2 separate regions of the Homo sapiens genome follow, and region 1 is linked to region 2. The links are contacts of gene promoters, found by promoter capture Hi-C in blood cells and fetal thymus (Javierre and others, 2016). All regions are on one chromosome and are shown on one strand. Each heading gives the region's core, a stretch centred on a gene start or on the middle of the fragment in contact. The rest is flanking DNA. Distances are from core to core; before and after follow the strand shown. Region 1 holds the start of OR52H1 (olfactory receptor family 52 subfamily H member 1). Region 2 holds the start of OR56B4 (olfactory receptor family 56 subfamily B member 4).

Region 1 (3,656 bases), core at 42-2,541, 560 kb before region 2:
CTCGGCCTGCAGTGTAGTTCTTGATTGAATTCTGTTTAAACAAACCAGGTATTGAATTCAATTAATGAATAGTTAGGGAAACTTAAATATGGACTAGGTATTGAGTGATATAAAGGAACTAGTGTTAATTTTATCAGCAATAATTATGGTATTATGGTAGATACACATACATACTCTCAGGCATCCACAGTATGTTAGCAAAATATTGGCACAGAGCATGTACTCTGGAGCCTCAGAAAGCTAGGTTTCACAATTTAATCCTGGTTCCACAATTTACTAGCTATGTGAATCTGGGCAAGCTATTTAAACTACATGATATTTGGGTTCCTATGTTTTTAAAAGAAATTAATATTTCTAATTTTTATAATTATTATTAGGACAAAATGATACACATTGAAAAAAGAATTTTTTTTTTGAGACAGAGTCTTGCACTGTTGCCCAGGATGGAGTGCAGTGGCACAATCTTGGCTCACTGCAACCTCCACCTCCATGGTTCAAGTGATTCTCCTGTCTCAGACTCCCGAGTAGCTGGGATTACAGGTGCCCGCCACTATGCCTGGCTAATTTCTTTGTATTTTTAGTAGAGACGGGTTTCACTATGTTGGCCAGGCTGGTCTTGAACTCCTGACCTTGTGATCCACCTGCCTCAGCCTCCCAAAGTGCTGGGATTATAGGCGTGAGCCACCACGCCCAGCCGAAAAATATTCTTTAATATAGTACCTGAAACATAGTAAGCATGTAACAAGTTTTACTTCTTTATATTAGGTTATATTTTATATCATTAGTATTATCATTAACAACCAGACCATGCAGTGGAAAAGAGAACAGAAATTGCAAGATGGATAAAAATTAACAGGAGCACCCCTGGGCATACACACATACCAGCACACTTAATTCTACATTTTAAGTTAGAGTTATGGACTCTTGTCACATGTCTGAAACAGAAATTTCCTAACACTGCTAACTGTGGTCATACTTAACGCAGCTGTGTAATTGTCCATCTGTTCTGATCTTTTGATGCTTAACTCAGTGGAGCATATACACAAGTACTGGAGATCAGGACCTCAGTTTATAAATGGGAGTTGCTCAGGAAAGAAAATTATAGTGCCCAGCCCATGGTCCCTAAGAAATAGAGCCCTGGCTTTTCACTCACTTTCTCTAAGTCTTGTCCCAATCAAACCCCTTCAAACAGCCAATACTCACCAAATCTTGGGGATCAGGCCAAAGGGAAAGAAGAAAGAGTGTGTTGACAAAATCTACAAGACAGCAGACACACCAACCAAAAAAAAACATGAGTGGAAGGAAAAGGAAGGACGTTAGAGAGGTTGATTCCCTGTCCATTTATTTTCTCTGATCACTCACTGCTCCTTGTGGGGAAAAGGTAGGTAGTTAGGGGATTAGAGACTCTGACATGCCCTCTTCTCACCCTCAAGGGAAGAAGATGAAAAAGATTCTATTAACCTTGTTCATGCCTTTGAGTTAACACTGCCTTAGAGTGCTTTATTTATTTATTTATTTGTAAGCTGATGTGTATGTGGGTGGAAAGCTGTGTGTATGTGCCTATCATATCACCCAGGTTTCAAGTTCATGCCCTCACTTACCAGATAAAGGACTTTGGATGAGTTACTTAATTTCCATTAAAAGGTGGTCATATTAGTACCTGTCTCTCAAGATTTTATAAGGATTGACAAATTAATAGGATACTGCTAGTGAAAATGCTTAACATATCGGCAAACTTATGGTGTAAAGGAATAACCTAGGGCACCTGTTAAGATGAAAATTATATGGCCCACATGAAATAATTCTAATATTATCTTTTAAAAATTCCAGTGGCTTTAGGGGTACAAGTGTTTTTTGATTACATGGGTGAATTGTATAAGGTTGAAGTCTGGGTTTCTAGCGTACCTGTCACCCATATTGCGTAGATTGTACTCAATAGGTGATGTTTCATCCCTCACCCCTCTCCTAGCTTCTCCTCTTCTGGGTCTCCAATGTCCATTATACTACTATGTGTGCCCTTGCATACCTATAGCTTATCTCCCACTTATAATTTTTAAAACATTAAACTTCATTAAACATTTTTATTGGTAAAAACAATATGAGCAAATAAAATATATTCTTATGGAGAAACTGTTAGGTCTACCAGCTGGTACTGTCAGGAATTTCTGCAAGTCCAGATATCAATTTTTACCTAAGAGGCTTTTACCCAACAATTCTGAAAGCCAAGTCAGTTTTTGTCAATGTTTGTCAAACGTTTGCTAAATATTGTTGAATGTGTTAATTAATAAAGATTGCCAGGAGTCCACTCAGTACTCTGAATGTTCTAGAATATCTGGAATAAACCAGAACTAATGAGATTAGTATTGTATTGGCTCCCAACAGAATTTTTACCTTTCGCTGAATAAAAATTGAGGTTGCTTCACCTCTCTATACTAGGATAAGGGACTGAAGAGTCACATGAACTTGTGTATTCTGTAAGAATGTGATTAATTGCATCACTTACTGCCTATTCTTTAAGAGCTTTCTAAAGATATTTCTCCATTCTTCATATAAGAAGTAGTTTTGCTTCTCTAACAATTAACTGTCTGTAACTTATAGCCATCATGAATTATGTAGCTAATCATGTTTAACTCTCACATAGACTGTTAGAAAGCTTACAGCTCAATTTCTGACCCACATATAATAAGAGAACAAAAATTCATAGCAGGTGGAAAGTGTATTTTCGGCCTATTTTTTGTCTTAATTTTTAAAAATCTTTCTACTTTTCTTTTTGCCTTTTCTATTTATACTTTGTAATATGCCACATAACAATGTTTCTGAACAATTGTCCCATAAGATTACAATACCATATTTTAGAGTACCTTGTCTATGTTTAGACATGTTTAGATGCACAAATACCATTATATTATACTTCCCTACAATATTCGGTATAGTAACATGATGTACAGTTTTGTAGCCTAGGAGCTATAGAATATAATAGAGAGCCAAGGCTGTATCACACAGGTTTGTGTAAGTACACTCTATGATATTTGCACAATAATAAAATCATCTAACAACACATTTATGAGACTCTATCCTCATTGTTAAGTGGGACCTGACTATATTTTTATTTATGGTATGCAAAATACATCAAGTAATTTTGGAAACAATGCATGTAGCTATTGTCACATGTTAAGAGATAGACTATAAATTCAAACACAATTCTCCGAGTCCAAAGGACATTCTTTTCTATTAAAACTATATGTTGAGAGCCATTGTAGAAATAAAAATTCAATGACATGTGAAAAGGGTAGTAGCACGGGGATGGGAAAGTAGTCTCAAGGTAAAGAGACCATGAACAACTCTGATATTTTGAGTCAAGTGAAAGCAGTGAGGGTTTGAACTACTGGGGTAGGGGAGGAGGGTGCCTGCACTCAGCCGGGGAATCCAAGAGGTTATTTAGAAAAAAACCACAGGTTTTGAGGACGTATCAGATTTGAAAGGGAAATAAGACATTGATTATCATTGCTGCCTGGCAGACACCTAAAAATAAGTATTACTGACCAAGTGACTGAATGACTCACTATGACCAAGTTATGCATACTGGATTTGAAGAGACAATGAATCATACAGAGGTACATTTTTGGCTTGTGACTACATCTCTATGGAGATACAAA
Region 2 (3,545 bases), core at 673-3,172:
CTGGAGGTTATTGTGTTAAGTGAAATAAATCAAGTAGAGAAAGACAAATATTACATGTTCCTACACATGTTTGGGAGCTTAAAAAGTGGATCTCAGCTGGGCACGGTGGCTCACGCCTGTAATCCCAGCACTTTGGGAGGCCAAGGCAGGCAGATCACCTGAGGTCAGGAGTTTGAGACCAGCCTCGCCAACATGGTGAAACCCCATCTCTACTAAAAATACAAAAATTAGCCGGGTGTGGTGGCACACACCTGTAATCCCAGCTACTCGGGAGGCTGAGGCAGGAGAATCGCTTGAACCTGGGAGGTGGAGTTTGCAGTGAGCCGGAAAAAGAAAAAAAGTGGATCTCACAGAAGTAATGAATAGAATGGTGGTTACCAGAGGCCGGAAAGGGTGGGGGTAGGGGAAGAATAGAGGGTGGCTGATGGGGACAAAAATACAGTTAGGTGGAAGAAATAAGTTCTAGTATTCAATAGCACAGTAGGAAAATTATAGTTAATAATTTACTGTATGTTTCAAAATCGCTAAAAGAGAATTGCAATGTTCCTAACACAAAGAAAAGATAAATGCTTGAGGTGATGGATATCCTAATTACACTGATTCGATCATTACACATTGTATACATGTATCAAAATATCACATGTACCTCCAAAATATCTACAAATATGATATATCAATTCTAAAAATACAAAAAAAAATCATTAAACTATAGGGCATCTAGGTGGTAGAAAATAATGCAACTTAACTGCAGTATGGAAATATGGAGCAGTCTTCAAAATATTAAGTTAAAAAAGAAAAGGAAAGAAAAAAGGAGAAAGGTGTGCTAACAATTGATTATGTCTTTTATGAAAATTATATATATATATATATATATATATATATGTTTTTATCCATGCATAAACTATTAATGGAAGGATTCCCAAGAAACATATTACTGGCTGCCTCTAGTGAAAAGGAAAAAGATTTCAAAGCCCCAAGCATGAGAGTCTTACTTTTCATTGTTTATATTTTTCATTTTATTTTGATTTTTACCATGTATAGATAATATATCTTAAAATAAAATCAAAATTATATTTAAAATTTTAAGACTATTATATCCTTTGTATATATAATTTTTGCATCACTTTTGAAACTCTACTCAAGGAAAACAATATTAAAAGCAAAATACCTGTCAGTAAATTATAGAATAGCCAAATGCAAAAATTTAAAGCAGCAATTAAAATTAACATCACACTTTTTAAATAATATTGTGAAGTCTTTGGTTAATGTATTCATCCATGAAATAAAATTTTTGAGTGCTTATATTACATCTTAACACATACTGCTAAAAGACAAAAACAAGATACAAAATCATCTCTAGATAATGATGTAGACTGTTTAAAAATAAAATAGAAAATTGGAAATAAATCAAATACTAACATTTGTTATCTGTTAGTGATAAGACTGTTGTTAATATATGTGGACATGCTTATTAGACATACAAGTGGTGATGAAAAATAGTTATTCCAACTCTTCTGTTTAGAATTTTTTTGCTTTTTTTGTTATTCCTCTGTGGAATATTTCCAGAAGTCAAATAAAGTTGAGGGTCATTCATGAATAAAAGGAGCTGGTTCATTATTGAGGAGCTCTTACCAAGACACTTAACTTTTTGTTTTGTTTTGTTTTTTAAGACAGGGTCTCACTCTGTTGTCCAGGCTGGGGTGCAGTGGCACAATCTCGGCTCACGGCAACCTCCGCCTCCCAGGTTCAATGATTCTCATGCCTCAGCCTCCCAAGTAGCTGGGATTACAGACAGGCACCACCACACCCAGCTAATTTTTGTATTCTCCGCAGAGATGAGATTTTGCCATGTTAGCCAGGTCAGTCTCGAGCTCCTGACCTCAAATTATCTGCCTGTCTCAGCCTCCCAAAGTGCTGGGATTACAGGCATGAACCACGATGCTCAGCCCCTTAGCTGAACTTTTAAACAGAGATTTCTTCTATTTCAGACAGACACTGAGACTGAGGCACCCATTCCATGGATACCTCCACCAGTGTTACCTATGACTCCAGCCTCCAGATTTCCCAGTTCATCCTGATGGGATTACCAGGCATTCATGAGTGGCAGCACTGGCTCTCCCTGCCCCTGACTCTGCTCTACCTCTTAGCTCTTGGTGCCAATCTCCTCATCATAATCACCATTCAACATGAGACCGTGCTACATGAACCCATGTACCATTTGCTGGGCATATTAGCAGTGGTGGACATTGGCCTGGCCACCACCATCATGCCCAAGATCCTGGCCATCTTCTGGTTTGATGCCAAGGCCATTAGCCTCCCCATGTGTTTTGCTCAGATCTATGCCATCCACTGCTTCTTCTGCATAGAGTCAGGCATCTTTCTCTGCATGGCAGTAGACAGATACATAGCCATCTGTCGCCCTCTTCAGTACCCCTCCATAGTCACTAAAGCTTTTGTCTTCAAAGCCACAGGGTTCATCATGCTCAGGAATGGCCTGTTGACCATCCCAGTGCCTATACTGGCTGCCCAGAGACACTACTGTTCCAGGAATGAAATCGAGCACTGCCTCTGCTCTAACTTGGGGGTTATCAGCCTGGCTTGTGATGACATCACTGTGAACAAATTTTACCAACTGATGCTAGCATGGGTCTTGGTTGGGAGTGATATGGCTCTGGTATTTTCTTCCTATGCTGTAATCCTTCACTCTGTGCTGAGGCTGAACTCAGCAGAAGCAATGTCCAAGGCTCTGAGCACTTGTAGCTCCCACCTCATCCTCATCCTCTTCCACACAGGTATCATTGTGCTGTCTGTCACACACCTTGCAGAGAAAAAGATTCCCCTTATTCCTGTGTTCCTTAATGTGCTGCACAATGTCATCCCCCCTGCACTCAACCCCCTGGCCTGTGCACTCAGGATGCACAAACTCAGACTGGGCTTTCAGAGACTGCTTGGACTGGGTCAGGACGTGTCCAAGTAACTCCAGCTTTAGGAATCCAGTAAGATGTTAGGAAATGACAGAGGTTTTAGTTCTCAATAGATCAGGGTTATAATCTGCACTTACCACACTCCCTAGGAAAAAAATGGCCAATAAAATCATGAAAACTGTCAGCCTCACTAATCAAAATATGTATATTAAAATTACAAGAAAATTTCCTATTACCTGGAAAATAAGTAAGAACAAAAAAGTGAAATGTTTCTAACTATTACTGCTAGCCTACCCCGAGATTAACACTTTCCTACACAACTGGTAGGACTATAAACACACCAAAAAGCAATTTGGTAAAATTTATCAAAATGTTTATAAATGTTTAAATGTTCTTAACCAGTAATTCTATTTTAGAAAAATATCCAAAAGAAATAGTCTAAATGCAGTCAAAAAGTTATTCATAAAAATCATTATAATATGACTAATAATAGAAAACAAAGCCTTTAATATTTACACATATTTAACTCTTACATATTTATGTGCTTTTCATATGTAATTTTTATAATAAAAAGTAAACAATAAATGTTTATTAAAAAGGAGTAAAGTTTAATTTTCGTAC

Evidence for each region. Contacts are between HindIII fragments. The CHiCAGO score rates a contact against its expected background, and 5 or more counts as called.
Region 1: a contact is called between the fragment with the promoter of OR52H1 here and the fragment with the promoter of OR56B4 in region 2, in 4 of 17 cell types (naive CD8 T cells, neutrophils, total CD8 T cells and 1 more). The highest score is 7.7, in naive CD8 T cells.

What each region holds. Positions count from the first base shown.
Region 1 is chr11:5,547,249-5,550,904 of GRCh38, forward strand. OR52H1 (olfactory receptor family 52 subfamily H member 1) reads right to left here and starts at 1,292. Exons shown (of 2, transcript NM_001005289.5): 1 at 1,204-1,292. The HindIII fragment of the contact is 4,857 bases long and covers 1-2,651 here.
Region 2 is chr11:6,105,762-6,109,306 of GRCh38, forward strand. It overlaps OR56B4 (olfactory receptor family 56 subfamily B member 4), which reads left to right and starts at 1,923. Exons shown (of 1, transcript NM_001005181.2): 1 at 1,923-3,074. The coding sequence starts at 2,018. The coding sequence ends at 2,977. All of the region lies in intron 2 of LOC124902622 (a long non-coding RNA gene), which reads right to left. The HindIII fragment of the contact is 4,106 bases long and covers 1-2,448 here.